Linked DNA regions of Homo sapiens: all the other regions are linked to region 6. Evidence: promoter capture Hi-C in 16 types of primary human blood cells and fetal thymus (Javierre and others, 2016). All regions are on one chromosome and are shown on one strand. The core of a region is centred on a gene start or on the middle of the fragment in contact, and the rest is flanking DNA. Distances in the headings are between cores, read along the strand shown.

What was found. The method cuts DNA at HindIII sites, captures the fragments that hold promoters and counts their contacts. A CHiCAGO score of 5 or more calls a contact.
Region 1: a contact is called between a fragment that was not itself captured here and the fragment with the promoter of DENND3 in region 6, in 1 of 17 cell types (monocytes). The highest score is 5.5, in monocytes.
Region 2: a contact is called between a fragment that was not itself captured here and the fragment with the promoter of DENND3 in region 6, in 1 of 17 cell types (endothelial precursors). The highest score is 5.4, in endothelial precursors.
Region 3: a fragment that was not itself captured here is called in contact with the fragment with the promoter of DENND3 in region 6 in 1 of 17 cell types (endothelial precursors); the score reaches 5.3 in endothelial precursors.
Region 4: a fragment that was not itself captured here is called in contact with the fragment with the promoter of DENND3 in region 6 in 5 of 17 cell types (total B cells, naive CD4 T cells, naive B cells and 2 more); the score reaches 8.7 in total B cells.
Region 5: a contact is called between a fragment that was not itself captured here and the fragment with the promoter of DENND3 in region 6, in 13 of 17 cell types (total B cells, naive B cells, total CD4 T cells and 10 more). The highest score is 13.7, in total B cells.
Region 7: a contact is called between a fragment that was not itself captured here and the fragment with the promoter of DENND3 in region 6, in 4 of 17 cell types (naive CD4 T cells, total B cells, naive B cells and 1 more). The highest score is 6.4, in naive CD4 T cells.

Annotation. Positions count from the first base shown.
Region 1 is chr8:141,392,813-141,396,268 of GRCh38, reverse strand. All of the region lies in intron 1 of PTP4A3 (protein tyrosine phosphatase 4A3), which reads right to left. Among named protein-coding and RNA genes, the nearest start is that of ASTILCS, 1.9 kb to the right of the region's middle. The HindIII fragment of the contact is 986 bases long and covers 1,606-2,591 here.
Region 2 is chr8:140,781,383-140,784,631 of GRCh38, reverse strand. All of the region lies in intron 14 of PTK2 (protein tyrosine kinase 2), which reads left to right. Among named protein-coding and RNA genes, the nearest start is that of MIR151A, 50 kb to the right of the region's middle. The HindIII fragment of the contact is 235 bases long and covers 1,699-1,933 here.
Region 3 is chr8:140,657,898-140,661,230 of GRCh38, reverse strand. PTK2 (protein tyrosine kinase 2) reads left to right here. Exons shown (of 36, transcript NM_001352702.2): 36 at 1,553-3,331. The coding sequence ends at 1,765. Among named protein-coding and RNA genes, the nearest start is that of AGO2, 24 kb to the right of the region's middle. The HindIII fragment of the contact is 572 bases long and covers 1,467-2,038 here.
Region 4 is chr8:140,846,406-140,849,688 of GRCh38, reverse strand. It overlaps PTK2 (protein tyrosine kinase 2), which reads left to right. Exons shown (of 36, transcript NM_001352702.2): 6 at 3,011-3,090. Among named protein-coding and RNA genes, the nearest start is that of MIR151A, 120 kb to the right of the region's middle. The HindIII fragment of the contact is 1,309 bases long and covers 1,065-2,373 here.
Region 5 is chr8:140,827,669-140,831,309 of GRCh38, reverse strand. It overlaps PTK2 (protein tyrosine kinase 2), which reads left to right. Exons shown (of 36, transcript NM_001352702.2): 8 at 784-838. Among named protein-coding and RNA genes, the nearest start is that of MIR151A, 97 kb to the right of the region's middle. The HindIII fragment of the contact is 8,465 bases long and covers 1-3,641 here.
Region 6 is chr8:141,127,339-141,130,176 of GRCh38, reverse strand. DENND3 (DENN domain containing 3) reads right to left here and starts at 1,588. Exons shown (of 23, transcript NM_001352890.3): 1 at 1,368-1,588. The coding sequence starts at 1,469. It overlaps DENND3-AS1 (DENND3 antisense RNA 1), which reads left to right and starts at 36. Exons shown (of 2, transcript NR_183310.1): 1 at 36-153. RefSeq lists enhancers at 497-1,327, 2,161-2,838 and a silencer at 1,183-2,042. The HindIII fragment of the contact is 7,380 bases long and covers 1-2,838 here.
Region 7 is chr8:140,805,627-140,809,297 of GRCh38, reverse strand. All of the region lies in intron 10 of PTK2 (protein tyrosine kinase 2), which reads left to right. Among named protein-coding and RNA genes, the nearest start is that of MIR151A, 75 kb to the right of the region's middle. The HindIII fragment of the contact is 9,947 bases long and covers 1-3,671 here.

The DNA of each region.
Region 1 (3,456 bases), core at 849-3,348, 270 kb before region 6:
AACACTTACCCGCCAGAGGTCTCAATCCTCTAGGATGAAGGGAGTTAAAATGCATCAAGTTTTACGTATGAGTCCATCACGGTCCTGACCAATGGCACCCACAGCCCAGATAATGGGGCCGGTTCTGGCTGTACCGCAATCACCAGGCACTGCCAAGGAGCCCCACCTTCACATGGCACGGGGTTACAGTCACGGCAGGGGTGGGGGTTACACATCAGGTTAGGCCTGCTTCCTCTGAGCCAGTGGCAGGGTTGGCGGGGGCAGGTGGCCAGGACAGGGTGGGAGAGGGGAGGCAGCCCCATCTGTCCCCAGCCAGGGTGGCCCTTGGCAGGCAACAGCAATGACTGTGCTGCATTTCCACTCCTTCTAGAAGCATAAGCCCTGACATGAGGGCACCCCTACATCTGGGGAAGACACCAGGAGAGGAGCCGGGGGGCATGGGAGCACCCCTACATCCCGGGAAGATGCCAGGAGAGGAGCCAGGGGACATCCCCACTGGGTAGATGAACGGGGGCTGCAGGAGGGAGGGGTGGCCCACGCACCTACCCCGGGTAGATGAACGGGGGCTGCAGGAGGGAGGGGTGGCCCACGCACCTTCCCCAGGTAGATGAACGGGGGCTGCAGGAGGGAGGGGTGGCCCATGCACCTATCCTGGGTAGATGAACGGGGGCTGCAGGAGGGAGGGGTGGCCCACGCACCTAAGGGGAAGTGGGGGTGCACTGGGCAATGGCCCCCAGTTCCCCTCCAGGAGGAAGGTAAACCTGAGGGCCCACTCTCAGGACCCCAGCTGAGCCCTGAGCCATGTGGTCATCCCTGACCCTCAGTTCCGCTTCCAAACCAGGAGGCTGCCACTAAAGCAGCCCAAGACTGAGTGGCACGTGCCTGGCGGGAAGCGATGCCCCACCTAGGGGTCCTTAGGGCCACACCCTTGGCTGGGAGGAACAGCCTGTCCTTATTTTCTGAACTGTCTTTTGTACAACAGCCTTGGCGCAGCTCAAAGGATAAGTGAGGTTCTCAGGGTCCTGACCTGAGGCGCCCCAAGGAGGGGAGACACGCGCACACTCTCTGCCAGGTGAACGCCTACTGGGCCATCGGAACCCACAGCTCGTGCCCCACCCACACTGGCACGGGCTGTGTCCACGTAGCCCTGATCCCGCTCGGCTAAAGAGCGCAGCTCTCAGCTGCCGTAGGTAGCTGCCAGGACCCTCCACCCTCTGCTCAGGCTCCTGGGTGGAAGGAAGCACCCGTCCCTGTCCCCGTCCCACCTTGGGGAGGCCCCCCTCTCTCCAGGGAGGCTGGCCTACCCGACTGGCAGGCGTGGGGCACACTCTGGGCCGCCCCCAACCGCACACACCCAACTCGCGGGGCGCCGAAGTCAGGCGGCGGCGATGCCAACCCGACCACGTAACTGTGCGAAGTGCAGTACCTCCTCCTGCAGCCCACAGCCACTCCCACCCAACTCTGAACTGTGCAGAGAGGACGGGGCTCATCGGCCCTCGGACCTTGCCCAGGTCCCTGCCTATGGGTCCTGCGAGCCGGTCCAGGTCAGAAGGAGGGATGGGAAGTCTTTTTTACCTCACACATGTTCACCCGTGTGACCAAGCTTCACCACTGTCCTGCCAGGAAGACCTGTCATTGCTCCCATTTTACAGGTGTGGAAACGGAGGGGCAAGAAACCAAGTATCCAGCAAGACACTGGGAGGCCAGGCCCTCCTGCCTCTAGCCCAGCCTCGGGCTGCTGCACTTGCTAGGAAACACCACTGCAGGCAGGGAGGGGTGCCAGGGACCAGAGGGAGTAGGTGACAGCAAGGGCGGCCAGGGTGGAGGTGGGGAGAAACGGTGCTCTCGAGGTGAGAAAGCGCCCTGGGGTGGTCTGGGACAGTGACCATCTGGTTACAGCCTTTGGTCAGATTTGGGACCTTCATGGAACAAGGCAAGCCCAAGGTCTTGGGGGGCGAAAAATCACCACTATCTGCCAGCCCCAGGCCCAGGAGCTCCCAGCTCAGCCCCTCTGGCCAAATGCCACCTGGACACCAGCCTGGTACACTTTCCACTTAACTCACCCTTTCGCCAGGACCTGCCAACCAGGGAGAGGCCTCCCCAAGCTGTATCACCGCCATCTGGATGTAAGTCCCTAAGGAGGTCACGTGCATAGGCATTGGGCACCAGCGGACACTCTGCCCACCCTGGCGGTGAGAGGGAGGGCTCACACCAGCTTATGCCCCCCTCTCAGTCTGACTGTGTGCACCTCTGCCCAAGTCCTCAGCCAGTAAAGTCACGTCTGTGTAGCTTGGGAGTAGTTACACCACAGAAATTGGCCAATGCCAATTCAGGATTTGGTTAAGCATCTGTTAAGCATGCCCTCATGTCATCTTTGAGCCCAGCCACCCATGGTGCCTCCAAGACCTCCTCGCCATCCAAACTGCCCACTTGTCTGAGAAAGCTGCCCACCTCCCGGCCTTCCTCCTGCCTCCCATGTCCAGTGCCTGACTGCATCAGCCAGCCACCCTCACCATGTTCTGGGCTGTTACTTGGGACAGAGAGGGGACCAGCTGAGGCCCCCAGCCTTACTCCAGTGGTCAGCGCAAGCTTCCGGGAGGAGGGCAAAGGCAGAGAGGAGCAGGCAGCTGAGGAAACCACCTGGAGGCTGCATCTCATCCCCGCCTGCATTTTCTCCCATCACGCCGACTGCCTGCGGGGGCCTGTCCGCAACCTGCCCCGCTCAGCCAGCCAGCCATGCCCCATCTCCAGGTCCAGCATTGGGCCTGGCACAGAGTAAGTGCTTGGAGAACACGTTGGGGGTGTTGAGGGGTGACCAGCTCCCTAGCGGGGCTATTTGGAAACAGCCCAGGAATTCCTACACAGGGCAGCTTCTCCTCCTTCGTAACCACAGTGAGGGGGGCCGGCGTGGTGATGGGGAGATCCCCAATGCCTAATTCCACTCAGGTGACAGGTTCGGGGCCCATTTACAGCAGCTCCAACGCCCCCTTTGCAGATGGGGACAACAAGGCTCTGCTTAGCCCCGCAGGCTAGGGGCTGCACCAACTCCACCTTTGTGGGCCTCAGTCTCCTCATCTGAGAAATGGGGTTAACGAACTTCTTGGGAGGATTGCAGGAACTCAGTGAAGCACGGCTCTGCACAGGGCTGCCAGGCGGCTTCTGTCTGTGCAAGGCCACAGGCACCCTGTGTTCAGTGACCTCCTCTGGTCTGCAGCCGAGGACACTGCTCCAACCTGGGAGCAGGGCCCCCAGGGTCCACAGACTAGGTGGATGCCCAACACCCACCATCGTGTGCGGGGCACACCCCAGAGCCCGCAGGCAGAGAGAGGGGGTGCAGCACGTGCCTTTCTGTCTTGGCTGAGGGTGCCCGGGCACACACTGTGACCAGCTAGCCTGGACCTCACGCTGCCCTTGGAGCCGCTATCACAGAGGGCCAGGGAAGCCTCCCTCATAAAG
Region 2 (3,249 bases), core at 567-3,066, 350 kb after region 6:
AGGGACCTGTAAGTATGCTGAAAGAGGAGGTGTGGCCTCTGTGGGGAGGGAGTGCTTAACCAATGGTTGTGTGGGTTAAAATTACCCTAGAAATCAGGTATTTCCAAATCAATGAGTAAAGCTGTATTTTAAATATTTTGAAGGTATAAACTTGGGGGTTTTGTTTGGTGGATTATTGTGTTTGGGTTTTTTTTTCTTTTTCTTTTCTAAAATAACGAAGCCCTTGATCAAGCAGTAAAACCTTAATTATGACCAGAAGTACAAGATAACACATGATAGTAATACCATTGCATTATGCACATGGCTCTTGTTACATGTTTGGACTACACATGTGGCACTAGAGATAATACAAGTTTTCTCATTTGTATCTCTGTCATGTACACCAATGCAGTGATCTTTTTCAAATGCTTGGTTTGATTGTCTCTAAGCCCTTCATGCTAAAGGGCAATTATACTACTTTGTGATAGTTTTTTTCCCCCCACTTTGTCACCCAGGCTGGAATGCAGTGGTGTGATCTTGGCTCACTGCAACCTCCGCCTCCCAGGTTCAAGCCTCCTGCCTCTGCCTCTGCCTCCCGAGTAGGTGGGACTACAGTTGTGCACCACCACGCCTAGCTAGTTTTTGTATTTTTAGTAGAGATGGGGTTTCACAACGTTGGCCAGGCTGATCTCGAAGTCTTGACCTCAGGTGATCCACCCACCTCGGCCTTCCAAAGTGCTGGAATTAAAATTAGTCGTGAGCCACCACGCCTGGCCCTTTGTGATACTTTTTCAGTATTTGTTGCAATTTAAATAAATTTTTAATTTTCTAACATTATTTTGGTTCAGTTGTTTATCATGCAACATAATTTCCTTTATTCAAGATTACTTTTAGGTTTTTCAGGTTAGTGACTGGAAATTATTCTGAACTATTAAAACATTTAATGAAATAAATGTTATTTGTATTTTGTATTAAGCTGCTTCATTACAAATTCTAAAACAGCTCACTTGTATATGCAAAGGTGGTTTGTAAACTGTAAAGTTCTATAAAATATAAGGTGGTATAGTCTATAATAATTACTGCATTTTATCTCTTTCTGTGTGGTCTCTGATACACTAGATTTGTTACCTATTCATGACTATGCCACTTATAAATACAGGTAGTTATTTACATATGCATGTGTCTTAGAGATCATGCCTGGCCCATCCACAGGCATCATTTTGTTTAAACCTCATGAGAGTCTTCGTAATATTTTCACTTTACACATAAAGAAATAAAGACACTCGGAGCTGAAGTGGTTTGGCCAAGTTCACATAGCTAGTAAGTAATAGCCTGATGGAAATCTTGATCTTGGACTAGAAGGTTTGTTCTCTTTACATTAGACCATATTGACTCATTTCTTTCTTTTTTCTGGAGACATGGTCTCCCTCTGTCACCCAGGCTGGATTGCAGTGGCTTGATCTCAGCTCACTGCAGCTCAACCTCCTGGGCTCAAGTGATCCTCCTGCCTTAGCTTCCCAAGTAGCTGGGACTACAGGTGTGCGCCACCATGCCCAGCAAATTTTTGTATTTTTTTTGTAGAGACGGGGTCTCCCTATGTTGCCCAGGCTGGTCTCAAACTCCTGGGCTCAAGCGACCTGCCTGCCTCTGCCTCCGAAAGTGCTGGGATTACAGGTGTGAGCCACTGCACCTAGCCTATGTTGACTCATTTCTAAAGCTTGATAATATAAATGTGTGGAAGGAAATAATACTTTGAAAGAGTTTGCGTGTGATTCCATTAAGGTTTTTTCCCCTCATTTATTAGGAATAGGATAGTGCTGACTCAGTTCCAACTCTCAGAAGTGTGCCCTGTATTCAAGTTTGAAAAAGGTTCTTCTGTCTAGTTTTACACTCTAGTTTCAATTTTGATAATGCTGTGGGTTTCCAAGGTAGTCTCTATCTGTTGCTGAAAGCTTGATTTAAATGCTAGCTTTTAGGAATTAAAAGGGGAAAGAAAAGAAAAAAAAAAACCTTGCCCTAATTTGAGAGCATTGTCACCTATTATATAAGTAGTTCATTTTTTTCCCTACCAAATCTACGGGACACTGAAAAAATTAAAAAGTAAAACTAAATTTAGGCCAGGCACAGTGCCTCACGCCTGTAGTCCTAGCACTTTGGAAGGCCAAGGCAGGCAGATTACTTGAGCCCAAGAGTTTGAGACCAGCCTGGGCAACATGGTGAAACCCTGTCTCTACAAAAACTGTAGCCAGGCGTGGAGGCGTGTGCCCATAGTCCCAGCTACTCAGAAGGCTGAGGTAGGAGGATCTCTTGACCCTGGGATTTGGAGGTTGCAGTGAGCTGAGATCACCCCACTGTACTCCATTCTGGGTGACAAAGAGAGGACCCTGTCCCCCCCCCCAAAAAAAAAAACAACCAAATTTTAAAAGATAAATTCATTTTTGTAAATTATATGCTTTGTGACATAATTTAATCAAATTAATGCTACTAATAATTTTTATGTGCACAAAGTAGTAGGTATTGAATGTTATTGATCTGTTCCTAGTACCTGGCTCACTGGAAATTATTCTGGTAGTCAGTCTGGTATTAGGAGAGACTCCAAACCACTGAGAAGCGTACAGTTGTCACTGACTTCATATGGATAGACTGGCTGATCGTGTTGTGCATGAATAAGGAAGTGAACAATCAAAATAGCCCAGCTGTGCTGCCTTCTTTCCGATAGCCCTCCCTCTCCCACCATTACATCATTCGAACTCCCTTTGCCACTGTTGAGATCGGGGTGTTCTTCGTAGTCATACCGTTTCTTCTCTGGGTTCTAAAGCAGTTGAAAAGAATACTTGGAGGTCATATAGGTTTTGAAATATCAGCATCGTATGTTGTAAAGAAGTATCCTGAAAAAGGACCCGGAACCACTCCTTCACCCTTGAGCTGAACTCGTCTCAGCTGCAGGCAGTGCAGACAGTGCAGACAGAAACTCACAGACCTCCCTGGCAAGGGGTAGCCTGAGGCACTTTCAAATTTTTAAAAAGGCCAAATGAAAAGCTGAGCAATAATGAGTACAACAAAAATTTAAAGTGGATTTTTGTTTTTATAAACTCTTCCCAGCCCACAGAAATCCAGCTCAGTCTTATAAATTTTGTTTCCAGAAGAGAGTATTCCCATCTTCTCCCAAGCAGCCCCCACGCTATAAAGGGGAAAAGACTATATGAGAGTATTAGAAACAAAAATGTATTTTTGTCTTTATAAAATAAATGCTTCACAGTTGGCAGTATT
Region 3 (3,333 bases), core at 503-3,002, 470 kb after region 6:
TCTCTCTAGATTTTGTCATTCTCCTTCTTAAAAATCTCTTATCCCTCTTGCCAAGTCCTGCCAAATAAAGATCAACTAGGTGTGGCTTTCACAGTTGAAGCCAGCCTACTTTTACAGTATAGGCCAAATTCAGACAAATTCTCTCTGTGAAGTCTTTCTGACCCTCTCTGAGACAGAATGCATTGCTGTCTTATCTATGTACTTTTCTACTACGTGATTTATTCCAGTGTATTATAGGGTCCTGTGTATGCTTTTCCCATTGTAGACTGCGGGTAAAAACAGGTCTTCCTCCTTGTATCCAAGCACCAAGTGTCTCGTACATAATAGGTGCTCCATAATTGATAAAAGAGCAAATGGATAAGTCACCACTGGTTGAAGAAACAGATAAGAAGGATCATGAGACTCTCCCATGCAAAGCATTCGAACCCTGTAGGACAGCATTTTGTGTTCATTAGCTGCTTCCACCATTGCTGCCCTGACTTAATGTGTGCGGGGGGAGGGGCGTACATAATGGTCTGGCTCTGTCACCCAGGCTGGAGTGCAATGGCACGATCTTGGCTCACTACAACCTCTGTCTTCCAGGCTCAAGCCGTCCTCCCACGTCAGCCTCCTGAGTAGCTTGGAATACAGGTGCACACCACCATACTCAGCTAACTTTTTGTATTTTTTTGTAGAGATGGGGTTTCACCATGTTGCCCAGGCTGGCCTCAAACTTTTGAGCTCAAGCCGTCAGCCTGCCTCCGCCGCCCAAAGTGCTGAAATTGTACAGGAGTGAGCCACTGCGCCCTGCCACCATCCTTAAACCATTTTTTGTATAGCCAAGGAAGGTCTTGAAATAGAGTTGGCATAGTAGAAAGCATAAGACCAGAAGTCAGAACTGAGGCTTTTGTCCTGGCTTGGAGACTAAAGAGCTGTGTGGCCTTCAGCACATCTTACTGTATCTCAGTTGTCCACTCTAATGTGAAAGTGTTTGGAATAGATGATCTCTGAAGTTCTGTCAGATTCTGTGGTTCTATTATGAAACAAAAGCCCTGCCAGTCACTGAGATTAATAAAGTCTAAACAGCGCAAATGGAGACGAAGTTAGTCATGGTGTCAGGGAAGGCTTTGAATGGAAGGAACAAGATGCTGGATCTGCATGTGTGAATCGGCATGCACAAACAGGCACACTATAATAGCTGAATTTCTAAAGTAAGTAAAAAAAATGTTTAAATGCATGAATGTAGTGTGGGAAGTTAAAATAAGAAAAAAAAAATTTAAAGATTGATTTTTACATCCTATTGCTCCTAAGGAAGATTTATTTACAGGAAATAAAGTTTTCTTCTCATGGAGGCACTGAAAGAAAGGCTCATAAAAATTCCCTGAAAAGTTCATTGGTGCAGGGCTTGGTGGCATGTGCCTGTGTTCCCAGCTAGTGGGAAGGCTGAGGCAGGAAGATTCCTTGAGCCCAGGAGTTTGAGGCAAGCTTGGACAACACAGTAAGAACATCTCTCTAAAAAAGAAAAAAAAAAATCACTGAAAACAGTTCTCCTGACCTATCTCTTGTCTTTCAGATTGAGATGGCACAGAAGCTATTGAACTCTGACCTGGGTGAGCTCATCAACAAGATGAAACTGGCCCAGCAGTATGTCATGACCAGCCTCCAGCAAGAGTACAAAAAGCAAATGCTGACTGCTGCTCACGCCCTGGCTGTGGATGCCAAAAACTTACTCGATGTCATTGACCAAGCAAGACTGAAAATGCTTGGGCAGACGAGACCACACTGAGCCTCCCCTAGGAGCACGTCTTGCTACCCTCTTTTGAAGATGTTCTCTAGCCTTCCACCAGCAGCGAGGAATTAACCCTGTGTCCTCAGTCGCCAGCACTTACAGCTCCAACTTTTTTGAATGACCATCTGGTTGAAAAATCTTTCTCATATAAGTTTAACCACACTTTGATTTGGGTTCATTTTTTGTTTTGTTTTTTTCAATCATGATATTCAGAAAAATCCAGGATCCAAAATGTGGCGTTTTTCTAAGAATGAAAATTATATGTAAGCTTTTAAGCATCATGAAGAACAATTTATGTTCACATTAAGATACGTTCTAAAGGGGGATGGCCAAGGGGTGACATCTTAATTCCTAAACTACCTTAGCTGCATAGTGGAAGAGGAGAGCATGAAGCAAAGAATTCCAGGAAACCCAAGAGGCTGAGAATTCTTTTGTCTACCATAGAATTATTATCCAGACTGGAATTTTTGTTTGTTAGAACACCCTTCAGTTGCAATATGCTAATCCCACTTTACAAAGAATATAAAAGCTATATTTTGAAGACTTGAGTTATTTCAGAAAAAACTACAGCCCTTTTTGTCTTACCTGCCTTTTACTTTCGTGTGGATATGTGAAGCATTGGGTCGGGAACTAGCTGTAGAACACAACTAAAAACTCATGTCTTTTTTCACAGAATAATGTGCCAGTTTTTTGTAGCAATGTTATTTCTCTTGGAAGCAGAAATGCTTTGTACCAGAGCACCTCCAAACTGCATTGAGGAGAAGTTCCAGAACCATCCCCTTTTTCCATTTTTATATAATTTATAAAGAAAGATTAAAGCCATGTTGACTATTTTACAGCCACTGGAGTTAACTAACCCTTCCTTGTATCTGTCTTCCCAGGAGAGAATGAAGCAAAACAGGAATTTGGTTTTCTTTTGATGTCCAGTTACACCATCCATTCTGTTAATTTTGAAAAAATATACCCTCCCTTTAGTTTGTTGGGGGATATAAATTATTCTCAGGAAGAATATAATGAACTGTACAGTTACTTTGACCTATTAAAAAGGTGTTACCAGTAAAGTTCTTGTTGTAATATCCTTTCTTTTGGTTCTGTTTCTTCAGATGGCTTTTCAGGTGACTTGTCAGATAAGATAACATACAAGAGAGTTCCCAATAATTATCAGGAAGCCTCTCACTAATTAGTTTCTTTTTTTTTATTTAATCTTCTAAACAAGTCAAGGATGTTACCACAGAAGGGTAGCGTGGCGTAAGTTAACCTTTTCATTCCATCGTCACCTATTAAATGCAGAGCTCAGGATGGAAGTAGCAATGGTCTTCAATGAAAGAACCTTCCCCTGCGCAGGGTCTCACTATTCCGCTAACTCGGACTCAAAGCATAATTCACTTGTCAAGGAAATTGTTAGCATTTCCCAGGCCCACCCTAGTCTTGCTAGAATCTCTGTGAGCCACAGAGCAGGGAGCAAATAGAACTGAGATCTCCAGCACTAGGGACTCAGACTCCAAAGGGAGGGATTTGAGTGAATTTTTTCCAGGTAAATACATGCTCTTATGTGCAAAAGCAGC
Region 4 (3,283 bases), core at 470-2,969, 280 kb after region 6:
CCTTAAGTAGGATTATTATCTACTGCTATCATTTTGATCAATCTTTTAGGCTTTTTCTGAGGCTATAAAATGGGGATGATAATAGTACCCACCTCACAGTGATGTTCTGATGATTAAATGAGATATTACATGTAAATCTGCTTGACATGGTGCTAGGTATATATACTTTATAGAAACCTAAATGCTTGATCAGTTTGGTTTCACAAATGATAGCAATTCTGCTGGGAGTTAGTGGAAGACAGGTGGTCAAGAAGTGTTTTATAAGGGATATGAACAAAGTGTGTACATAATTCTGAGTCTTGAAGCCCAGCCTCAGGATGTGGCCGTGCCCAGTGGCTTGAGAGAACACTCTCTAGAGCCTAGATGACAGGGAGCATTGAGACACTGAATAGAGTTTGCTTTCTCTCTGGCAGCAGAGGGGAAGCTGCTTTGGGGCTTGAGGGGAGGACACGGGTCTGTGGTGATGCCTTATTCTATCTCAGATCTATACTCTTTGCAGAATACTTTGATCACATCGGGCCACAAATAGATTTCAGTGTGTGATCATGCAGCTCTGATAATCGAGATTAAAGCTATAGGAAAAACAACTCTCAGAACTTTGAACTCATTCTCATAAATGAGATTTTTTAAATGAAGATTATTATAATTTCCCCCTTTTTCATTTTTACAATGCGAATTTGGTTTTGATGATGAAATATAGCATTTGATTATTTTTTCTACCTGTGAATAGTGTTTAAAAATTGTGGCAATTAATCTTCAAGATTAATTGAATTTGGTAATGGTGCATTTTCCTCATCATGTAATTGGTGGTCTGCAGTAGTTCCTCTGAAATCTGCATCAGACAACTAAAAGCCACTGAATGTTTCCATCAGAGTAACGGTGGTATTTTTCTGCCTATCTAAATACCTATCTTGGTTTAATTCTTGCGCCTTTATTTTTGTGCTCGATAATAAACCTACTTATGATGCAAAACAGGTTTTAAATTGAGACTTATTTTTTGTTTTGTAGAAACAAGAGCTTCTACTATTTGTAGAAGTTAAACGAATAGTTCTAGACCTAAAGCTTTTTACTTAACTGAATGAATTAATTCAGTTCCGGTTGGTCAGTCTTGAGTGCCTGCTTTGTGGAAGGAGTAGAAACTCTTGTTCCTTGTAAAGGAGGGAAAATATATATGGAAAATAACATTTATGTACCCACCCTCCAGTTTGATGACTGTTTGTTCATTCGTTTATGCATTCATTCAATAAATATTTATTGAGCACCCAGCCTTAGATGCTAATGCAGAAAATAAAGAAAGGTTTTGAGACGAATAGTCCTTAGATCAGTAATAGCACATAGTTGTCCACTGCTGGTTGAGGGAATGTTTCTCCTACTTTAAGAGAAAATAATGAGTAAATGTTCATACTTTTTTAGTGCATATTAGGTTATAAATTCCTGGTAGGTTAAAGAGAGTATGCTCATCTGATGTGTTTTATCTTCTCTGTAACAAAGAGATATGGCAGGCTTACTGGAGGAAGTATGAAATCAGTGAATTGTAGCGCTTCCTAGGCATGCATTGTTCAATTTCCAGATAGTTTTAACTGGCCATTTGAGATTTGTCTTCATGAGTTGAAAGTGGAGTTTATACTATGATTTCTCCAGCTGCTCATCTAAACATGAAGAGGATGAGTGGGTAGGTTCAACGTGGCTTGGGTTTACCAAGCAATTCAGACAGAGGGATAATGGGAGACAGGGGAGCTGGTTGTCTTTGCAAGGGACGGTCATAATGAGGAACCATCCAGTATGAAGTAGACAAAGATTGGTGTGGAGTGAGAGATGAGTTAACTGGGGGTGGGACTCTTTGAACAAATGGGCTAGCAGGCTAGGAGGCAGTCATTGAAGAACAGGATGTTTGAAAATTTTTTTAGGGTAGAAGTCAAGACACTTTTTATATAAAGGGTCAGAGTAAATAGTTTAGACTTTCAGGAACGAGGCAAAATGCAGGGTATTATGAAAGTACAGAACAAGAAAGAAGACAAATTTCCACAAATTTTTGTGTTGATAAAATTCATAATATAATAATTGAGCATGGTTTTCTTGTAACACAGGTGTACTGCTGAAGAGAATGGGATGCGTCTTGGAGGAGGGGTGGATAACATTTCATGTGAAGTTCAAAATGGGTACTCTCATCAAAATCAATTGCAGATTTTAATCTTTTCAGGCTAATCTACAAGGAAATTGTACACATTTCGTCTTTGAAAATGTGTTCACAGTGACAGTTACTTGCACGTATTGATATCACTCTTATCGGCTTTTAAAATTGAGTTGATTCATTGTTTAGAAGGCATTTCAAGAATTCCATTAGATTCTTCTCTTTACTTTAGACTTTAAGCTTGTATTACTTTGCAGATTAATCACTTAAAATTGATGGTTAGATGAAAACATCTGAGCTGCACAGTTAAATGGATTTTGAAGTACGTAAATCCTTTGCCTTTTCACTGGAGTCCAAAATATGCTGCTGGAACTGTAGTTTGAGGTCAGAAAATACATCTGCAAATTTTTGTAGAAATGGAAATTTCCCTTCTTGTTTTTACTTTTGACAGCATGGGAAAGGTGTGGAGCATCTGAAGGTTATTATGATTCAGACCCTATTCGTTGTTTCTTAATGTCCCATTTAAGTGGTCATATATGAGCTTTTCTTAATAGGAGACCATTTTATTTCTTTAATTATTTTTTGGTATAACTCACGTTTATATCTTTAACATCAGGCATAATTACCGACACAATGTAAACTATATGAAAGGTACTGAAGAAACATTTATTTATATCTTTAACATCAAGCATAATTACCGACACAATGTAAACTATATGAAAGGTACTCAGGAAACATTTATTTATATCTTTAACATCAAGCGTAATTACCGACATAATGTAAACTATATGAAAGGTACTCAGGAAACATTTATTGAATGCATATATCTAATATTTTTCTTTTAAAACAGTGTTGTTTTTCCCATTCCTTTTGTTGTAGGTGAAGAGCGATTATATGTTAGAGATAGCTGATCAAGTGGACCAGGAAATTGCTTTGAAGTTGGGTTGTCTAGAAATACGGTAAGATGATAACTATACATTGCGGCCTTTATTTATCAATTTTTTAATTATTTTTGAATATTTTCCAGGTATTTTCCTTTTCTTCATAAGGATTATCAGTGAAATACTGAATAAAATTTGAGTAAATTATGAACTATTGGTTTGGTGCAAAAGTAATTGCATTTGTTGCTGTTAATTTTTGTTTATTATTCAG
Region 5 (3,641 bases), core at 476-2,975, 300 kb after region 6:
TTATTTCACATTGCTAGCACACGAGTGACACCTAGTGGCCAAAACATCTGAGTAAGTTAGTAACCAAAGTACTAGGAAAAGAATCAGCTATTCTTTCCAACCTATTTTCTTGGCCAGAGCGTTGAGGTTCTTGATAATAATGATCAATTTAATTTTGTTGCCTGACTTAAAGAACATTGCTGCGATTTCCAGCATTTCCATAAATTCACCTTTTTTACCTAGGGCATAAATTTATCTGTTTGTTTTTTCCTAATGTGAAACTGAGACAAGTGAATGAGTCACTTAATCAAAAAAGTCTATTTTTAAAAATAGTCAACTTTTAGGATAAACCTAAGGGATTTATTTCTGTAACTTCTCGGGTATATCCTGAATCATTTACTAATCAGGCTAGCTATTTTCTCTACAAATACAGTATTACCCAGTTGGAAGTGATGTTTATAACCTTCAAGAAATATCTGAAAAAGGACAGTTTTTAATACACTATAATTTACAAAGAGGGAATATTTTAGAAGAGTTTTCAACAATAAAGGTAAAAAAAGAAAAAACCAAAAGGATTTCTATTTAAACCAACTTGTATTCATGTTTCCAGTACATATCTAGAAAATGATTTGTCCCATCCTTCCTGTGAATATACTGGTAAATTAAAGCATTATTATACTTGTTTCCTTCCTAAATAATATATGGAAGGATAAATAATTTACAGTGCTTTTATGTTCTTGCAAGTTTGTCATATTAATTGATTTGGTGGTGTTATTTGTTAATACGCTTCTTTTTATATTTCAGAAAAGATGTTGGTTTAAAGCGATTTTTTCCTAAGAGTTTACTGGATTCTGTCAAGGTAATTAGAGTCTCCTTTATCATAATAAAATAACAAAATTATGCCAAGACCTTTTCCCCAGTGGTAAATTGCTTTTGGGAAAGTAAAATGTAGTTTCCTTCCTTACATGTAAAATATATAATTTAAAAAGCTGACATTTATTCTAGTCACATTAATGGCAAATAGGTTTTTAGTATAGCTTTCTCCCATAAAACATGGTTTTACTTCTTAATTGTGTTTGATACTCTGCTAAGCATAAAACTAAAAAAGTTATGTGCACAGTTATTCCTGTCATCTAGGTCTTCACAGGCTAAAATATTTTGACATGCAGAAGAAAAGGAGCAATATGTAAAATAATCGTGGTGGTGGAATCATTAATATTGTGTGTGTGTGTGTGTGTGTGTGTGTATGTGTGTGCGTGCATGTTAGTGCATTTTGAAGGTCTGTCTTTTGTTTCAACCCTTTGGATGCTTCCCCGCATTAGTAGCTTTGGCAGAGCCTCAGTTCTTATCCTTCCCATATCCAGCGTGGAGAGCACCTTGGAGTGAGGTGGGAGGACTCTGAATGTGTGATTCCCCCAGCTAATCCAGAGCACACATCAAGATTTTCAAGCGCAGCAGGGGATACAAACTTTAGGGTTAAGGCAGAGTCTGGCTCAGATGAGCTCTGCCATTTTCTAGCCTCAGGGTCTTGGGCCTGGTTTCTTATTTCTACAATGAAGAAAATAGTATTTTGTAGGGTTGATGTGAATATTTAACAGATTAGTAAATATATTACTTACCACAGTACCTGTCACATAGCAACAGTGGATGTTACTGCTCTTACTTTTTATTTTTCAAAGATCTTATTCTACATCCCATCAGCTGAAGCCCAAGCAGGAGAAGATACTCATTATGAGAAAATGTAGCTAACTTTGGATAAGTTATTTCATCTTTTGGTATTTCAGTTTACACATCCGTAAAATGGGGATAAAATCCATTTCTAACACGAGATTAATAAGAGGATTAAATCTTAGAAAGACCAAAAGAGAGAGAACTGTCGACGTCATGTTGATTATCATTGGGCCGGAGTGTTGGTATAATTTATCAGATGCAATCTGTGACAAAAGCTCTGTATTCAGATATCTGGGTCCTGCTCTCTGTCAAACCCATCCAGAATAGGACTGTAAGGATTAGTCACTGTTTCCCTGAGTCCAGAAAGTAACAGTATCCCTTCCTCTCTCACATAGCTTCTTGATAATCTAATGGGAAAAATAGATATAAAGGTGTTGGCTTTAAAACACAATGCATTCTAGAAATGCAATAAGACGTGCATTTAAGAATAGTACAGGAAAAATATACTCTTTATTTCAGGCTCTCTTTCTAGTGATGCTGCTCGACTTTTTCAGTGTTCATTCAAGTTTCCTGATCTATTAGTGAAATACTACAGTGAATTATTAGGGAACAGAGCATACTCCATTTAGTGTGGTTGAGGCCAGGACTACAGATCGAGACACTGTCCCAGTCTACAAGTAGCCCACAGACCATTGGCATGAGTGGGTTGAGTCAGATTTGAAAGAGAACAAAGAGTTTTAAATGAAGTTTGGCACAGTGGAAGGGGAATGAGAGAGAATGACACAATTGTGTCCTTCGAGAGAGTTATTAGGTGTGGGTGGCCCATACTCTTGCAGTTGGGAGAATGGGAGATTCAGTTTGACCTGGAATGTTTTTGGTGTGGGAGCCGAGAAGGCATGGGAAGACCCTTAAGTGGAAGGGATGCTGCTGTGTGTAAACCTGCTGGGTGCTGCAGTGAGGAGGATAGTGGAGACATTCAAACAAGTGTAAGCTACAGTTTTAGTGAATTTACATTGCTGTTGGATAGAAGAGTACTCTACCCAATGTTCTGTTGATGGTTATGTCACATTAGTAGTATTGGTCAGGGGTTTTCAGTTGTGAAGCACTGGTTTATGAAGCCTCAGAATTATTGCAAAGTCTCCTTAAATCTGTATGTGTATAAACAATTAGGAAAAGAGTGACTGTTGTCATTTAGGAGTCCAATACATTCTAGATTTTTAAAGGATCCCCATATTCAAAACGGAACCACAGGTACAGGTCACAGGTGCCATGGTGTGAGTGTAGCCAGAGTGAGACAGGTGCCCAAAGAGGTTCGGTAGAGGACTGGCCCTGTCTCCTCCATGACTGGTCCTTCTGAACCTCTGCTTCAATGTTCCCTCTCCTACTCTTTTCTCACCACGCAAAGTGGAAATGGCAAAATACTCCCTTCAATCTTGGGACCCTGTTTAGTATCTTAATTTTTAATTCTACTTTCTCTTTTTTTTTTTTTTTGTTGAGACAGAGTCTTGCTCCATCGCCCATGCTGGAGTGCAGTGGCGTGATCTCGACTCGCTGCAACCTCCTCCTCCCGGTTCAAGCAATTCTTCTGCCTCAGTCTCCCAAATAGCTGGGACTACAGGTGCCTGCCACCACACCTGGCTAATTTTTTTATTTTTAGTAGAGATGGGGTTTCACTGTGTTGGTTGGGCTGGTCTCGAACGCCTGAGCTCAAGTGATCCACCCACCTTGGCCTCCCAAAGTGCTGGGATTACAGGCGTGAGCCACTGTGCCTGGCCTCAATTTTTAATTATGTAGTTTGTTACTTGTTTGTATTTTATCTGCCTTCCTCCGCTATATTTTAAGATTGTTGAGGGCAAAGACAATATCTGTTGCTGTCTCCACTCTACACCCTTTGTTTGACATTGTACCTGGCACGTAGTAACATTTGGTAAATCCTACTTAATGAATAACAGCAATATGATGAGTAAAATAAGGGGAGACACTTTCTGAAC
Region 6 (2,838 bases), core at 339-2,838:
TGCCCTCAAAAGACATGTGTCACACCAAGCAACTAACACCCATGTTGTAACTGCCCCAGAGGAAAGACGTTCAACGGCTGAGGAGACCACAGCGGCAACTAGGTCACTTCCTATTCGAAGAAAAAGGAGGAGATGCCATCTGGCAAATTCGAGGTAGGGAGACAAATCAATCGATGACGTTGCGAGGAGACAGAGGTCAAACGGGATCTACTGACATGACAGGGCGTTGAAGGGAAGGAAAAGTTGAGGGAAACGAGGAAACTATTTCCATAGGAGAATGCTTTTTCACTGAAGTCGAAACTGGCTTGGTACTGACGCCCAGCAGGGGAAACTCCCCGGACACTCACAGACATTCATCTGGTTACTTGCAGGAACATCTGCCTTTCCTGGTGACACCCTCTGCCCTGCAGTCTTCATTTTCCCTGGATAGCCCAGCGTCATTTAAATACTCAGAAGCCTCTCTGCCTTTCTATGCTGTTGTCTGCAAAGAGATGAACGGACCTGTGCAGACGGCTGGCCAGTGACGCCGGGATCTCTAGGTAACATGACCCAGTCACGGTGTCACAGACAGGCGGACCAGGAGGAAACCAGAGACACAGATGGATTCCAGGGAAAGCCAGCGTTACAGAATTAAGAAAAGCTGGGGAAGAAAAAGGAAAACGAGAATTTCCAAAACTGCCGCTTTCCCAGCAGAAGGGAGATGAAGTTGTCACTTTGGCTGCGAGGGTGCAGAGATGGAGGAAGGGTTGGGGGTGGGGGTGGTACCGCAAGGGAGAAAAATAGCTATAGGCTTCATCGCAAAGGGGTTCATGCAGAATACGCGAGGCCGGCGGCTAACTCTAAGATTGCTCTCTCGTTATTCTGTGCCTGGTGCAAAACCCACTACTCAGGGGACAACACATCCCAGCATAAAGAATGAAATCATTTCAGCAGCGAGGGCTGGGCCCGCTAGACCGTGAGGCTCCGGCGGCTTCCGCCCGTTGTCTGGTGCACCCCACCTTCAGAAGCACCTGCCCAAGATGGGAGCGACTGAAGAGAGAGGCCCCAGAGACTCTCCGAGGGGCGGCACCCCCAGATTCCCGGCCGGCGGACCAAGTTCGCAGCTCTCAAAAGACATGTCTCACACCAAGGGCCCCGGGCGGGGAGAGGAGAGAAGAGGGGAGGGGAGCAGGGCGCTGCTCCAGGGCACCTGCCTGAGCTCGGGCGCGATCCCCGGCCACAGGCGCGCGGGGTCACCGCCGGGGGACCGGGACTCAGCCCTCGGAAAGTCCGCGCCAACCCACAGGGCACCCGGGCGCCCGCTCTCCGACTGCTGTCCCGGCTGCCGACTCGTGGCCCACGTCCGCCTCAGTTTCCCCGCCCCTCACCTGCTCGAGACTTCGGAGACTGTCCCGGGGGGCGCCCAGCAGCGCGCAGAGCTCCAGCAGCCCCGAGGGCAGCGACAAGTGCGGCGACGCGGCCTCCGCCATGGCTGCCCGCCGCCCGCCGCCAGTACCGCACTCGGGCGCCTCAGCCGCGCAGTCGCCCGCAGACCCCTGGGGACCAGCCGCGCCGCCTGGGGGCCGGGGGCGCTGCGAGCGCCGTCTGCGGGGCGGGGCTGGAGGCGGGGCCTGGAGGGGCGGGGCCCGAGCCGAGGCGGGGCCTGGAGAGCCCCAGAGGATACCGCGGGGAGACAGAGTTTGGGGGCGGGGCTTGACTGGGCGGGGAGGTTCTGGGCGGGGCCTGGAGTGGCGTGCCCGGCCCTAGGGACCGGGACTTGGGGGCGGGGCCGGTCCTAGGGCGGGTGCTGCTGGAGACCCGCGCGCGGTCGTCATTTCCTAACCCGCCTGCGGGCCCTGGCGCGTGCGCGGCGTCGGAGCAAGCGGCCCCTTCCTTCGGCCCCGCCCAGCCCCGCCGGCCGCCCGCTCCCTGGGGAACCGAGGGAGGAATGGGCGGGGTCCTCAGGTGCCCGGCGACGTCATCCAGCCCCCAAGGCTCCAGGACGCAAAGGGTCCCCTGATCTGGCAGTCCCTGGACCTACCCTGGAGAGCGTGGGGGGACAAAGGCCGGACGCGCCGCCCGCTGCCGCCTCCAGGAAGCCCTCCCTTGCCAGGACAGTGGAGTTGGCCGGGTGTGGACAGCAGGAAGGGCCGGCGGGAAGGGGGGGTGGAAAGAGCCACTCCTGGTTAATAACTCTGCGGGGTTAACCTAGGGCCGGCCATACTCAAGTACGGACTTGAGTAAAATTCAGCAGGAAAAGGAGCAGGGTGGGCGCCGCTAGAGGGAGGCTTCAGGACTGAGGGTCAGAGGCCCAAGGCCTGGCAGGGCCCTTCCCTGGTCAGCTCCAGGCTTGGCCTGATGCCCGGTGGGCCACGGGCCTCTTCCAGCCTCAGGCTGACCCCAGAGAAAGAGGACAGCCCACAAGCCCGGGAGGCCGGCTTGCTGCCTGGTCATTGCTGCAGAGCCTGGAGGGGGCCTGCGCTCAGTCCCCGCTGACCGTCCCCTCCCTTGACCCTGCCATAGCCATCTGTGTAACCCAGGGGAAATTATTCCAAAGGGACTTCCACTTCTGATAATCTATGATTCTATTTTCTAAAAAACAAAACTCTAAAATGCTTAATGTCAAACATCTGTCATCAGCTGAACAGGAAAAGGAACAGTAAGTACAAAGCAAGGCAACATCAGAAAAGGGAGCCCTGAGGAATTTCTCCCTCCTTCCCTGAGCCGGGTGAGGCCGTGACTGCAGCCTGACTCACAGGTTTTATTTCACTTATTAACCTAAAGATGGTGAGGATCTGCTGGTTCTCCCCCAGGCCTGGAGGCTGCCTACCATCGGTGGCTCTCATCGGTGAGCTGAGG
Region 7 (3,671 bases), core at 721-3,220, 320 kb after region 6:
AAGGACAAGTTTAGTGATGTATTGCAGCAGTACTATTCATTTTCATTGATTTCAGTATTTTTCTTCATTCTGTTTTTGTAGTATCTTCATTATTTTTGTCTTTTTTATTGTGCTCTTCCCTTTTAAGTGCATCTTTAAAATGTATTCTTGTTTACTTTGGAGGCCATTTTCTTCTTGCACAACTTTTAATATGTCTTACCTTTCTAGGTATGTGGTATTCTTCTTTCCATTGTATTTCTGTATACTCATTTGAAGTTTTATCTTTGGCCAGGCACCGTGGCTCATGCCTGTAATCCCAGCACTTTGGAAGGCTGAGGCAGGTGGATCACCTGAGGTCAGAAGTTTGAGACCAGCCTGGCCAACATGGCAAAACCCCGTCTCTACTAAAAATACAAAAATTAGCCAGGCGTGGTGGCGCCTATAGTCCCAGCTACTTCAGGACACCGAGGCAGGAGAATCGCTTGAACCCGGGAGGTGGAGATTGCAGTGAGCTGAGATCACACCACTGCACTCCATGCTGGACGACAGAGTGAGACTCCATCTCAAAAAAAAAAAAAAAAAAAACAAGAACAAAAATTTTATTTTTATTTCTCTTTTTCATTATAGCATTATTTAGAAGAATATTACTTAAGTTTCAAGTAGCCCTGGGGTTTTATCTCATTTTTATTTCTATGAGCATATTATGAGCCAAAAATTTCATATTGGCTTATGAGCAGGTAATATGATTTTTAAATGTTAACTGTTTCACAGTTGTTAAGATCTTCTTTATGGCCAAGCGTATGATTTTTATAAATGTTCCTTGAAAATATATGTTTTCCTTTTGAGTTTATAAGGACCTCTGTGCCTATGAAATAAGAGGTATTAGTTATATAAAGTAGAAGAAAGCAAGATTGGAGCAATCAGGATAGAGCCCCCAGAAGATTCCTTGCACTGCACTTCTCACATTTCTGCCTGCCACACTCCTCCTCCTCATTTGTTCTGCCTCCCATGGGTGAACTTCATGTTCCTGAATGAGACCAACCCTCTGCTATGTAATGGCTTCTATCCCATCTTACCTGTTCATGGTAATTCTTCAGTTCTGCCCACTCTTTCCTGTAGCAGCAGACATTTCTAACATACTGGATTGTTCCTGTCAGCATAGAAAAATGTATAGTTTCTCCCATCCTAAAATCCCCTCTTTTAGCCCTGTGTCCCTCTCTCTCCCTGGTACCTCATGTTTTCGTGTCATTTATTGCAAAACTTCTTGACAGATTATCTAACTGCATTGTCTTTAATTCTTCCCACTCCCTCTTCAACCTGCTTCAACCAGGCCTTTCCTGCCTACTACCATTACACTACCACCGTCCACCCCTCAATGCCTTGCCAATGATGACAGTGATCCTCCTGTAGATAAGCCCACTGGGTAATTCTGAGTCCTCATCTACTTTACTTGACTTCTCCAGTGCTGTCCAACAGCAATACGATGTAAGCCTCATAGGTGATTTAAAATTTTATAGTAACCACATTTAAAAAGATAAAAAGATAGGTGCAATTAATTTTAATATATTTTATTTGATCCAGTATATCCAATGTATCATCATTTCAAGATATAGTCAGTGTAAGAATTCTTGAGACTTTATCTTATTTTTATCATTCCAAGTTTTTGAAATCTGGCATGCATTGTACCCTACCAGCATATCTCAGCCTGGAGGAGCCACATACCACTGGGTGCTCCATAGCTGTGTGTGGCTTCCTGCCACCAGTTGAACAGCACATCTCAGATTCTCCTTCTCAAGTGCTCTTTCCCTCTCTTTTTGCCCTTGTAATGACCACTTACATGCCTATCTTGAGTGTTACCTTAGTCAGTTTGCTTATATATTGTGTGCAGCTGCCTTGTGCTAGGTGGTAGGCTAGATTCTGCTGGTGCAGTACTGTATCTGAATGTAATATACCTAGTCTTAAGCTCGTGTTGCTCAAGTCTTGTTCTCTTTTTCGCAGTGAAACTTTTTCTGAGGCTTTATTTCCTCCCTCCTCTCCTTTCCAATAAATTAGATATTTTTATACAGCACCGTGTATTGCTTTGTTATAGTCCTTATCACAGTTGTAATGGTTTACTTGTGTAATGTTTGTTTAATGTCTGGATTCATGTTATCCTTGTTTGCTGCTGTATATCTGATACTTGGAACACAGTCTAGCACCTAATAACTTCTCATACTTCATTCACTTACATGCCAGGCATGGCCCTGCTTCCTTGTAATCTGGTGGTGGACAAGGTGGACATGATACTCCCATCCTCATGGGGCTTTCCTTCTAGTTATAAAATAGAATATAAAGAAGAAAATAAGCAATATAAATAATGGGATTGTGCTAAAGGGCTATAGTAGGGTGGCGTGAGAGAGTATCTGAGTGTTTGATTTAGAGTAGGTGGGCAGTGCCAGCCCCTCTTAACCCTGTTCTCTTTATAACAGATGTTTTAAATTATCTTTTGCTATCCTGAAATTAAAATTACAGAGCATGTTATTCCCCTACTCAAATAATTTTTTAAAATCTCTATCAATATCTTAAAGTTTAGCACAATACATTGGAAGGCACTCTAGTCAGACGCACCTACTTAGTAAGGACTTTTAATTGGAGGGAGAACAATCAGAAGCCACTCCATACAAGTGGTGTAGGAAAGTGATAGGGAAAAGTTATGTGACTGACCTTGGGGAATAATGCCAGAGTGAGGCAGAAAAACAATTTTAAAAAATATAATTTCCATAACCTAGATGTCTTACTGTGCCTTCGAATTTTTTTTTTAATTATGAGATAGCAATAACAAGGACTAATTGAGATAGTATTCCTCATTTCATGTGTCACCACCAACATAATGATGTTCAGCTCTCGGTCTGTTGGAAGGCGCCTCCGACATCCTCTGTTACGTACGTGCATGCAGTAGCTACAGATGCAAACTGATACAGGTGCATTTTGTCACTGACCAAAATAACTATAGCAAGTCTTGCCCTTGGTGGTGTCATTCTCCAAAATGGTGAGGAACTCTTAATAAAACTTCAAAAACAGCATAGTATAGGATTCCCTTGCATTACGCGTAAGTTGCATTCCTGGAAAGTTCAATGCAGAGCATACTTTGTGGTTTTAAACAGACTTTGTTTCTAGAGTCAGATTTTTCAGTGACATAAATACACACCAGGACATTTGAAAGCCGTCGAGGATGCAGGACAATTTTTTATTGTGCAGGAATTACCCATGCTTCATGTGACATCTAGCAGCCTTGGTTATAAAAACAACCCACCCCCTGAAATGGTTCTACCCCAACGAAACTAGAGCACATATCATCAAGACAAGATCATGACAGTAAATTAGGTCAGAGAGGCAGGCAGGGGTCAAATCATGTAGACAGTTTGCTCATAGAAATCATGCTATGTAAATCATGCAAGTTATGATGCTTTGTATTGTACCTTTTTAAGCAGAGGAGTGATATGATCTGGCTTTCAGGTAGGGACATTATATAGTAGCATGGATGAAGGGAAACTAGGAAAAATGGCAGGACTCTAAGCAGAATATCATATGGTGGCCTGGACTATAGTGACAACTGTGAAGATGGGAAGTAAACACATGAATTCTGGATGTTTGGAGCTGAAGTTGCCAGGACTTGTGGAGAGGTTGGATAATGGGGAAAGGGAGAAGAATCA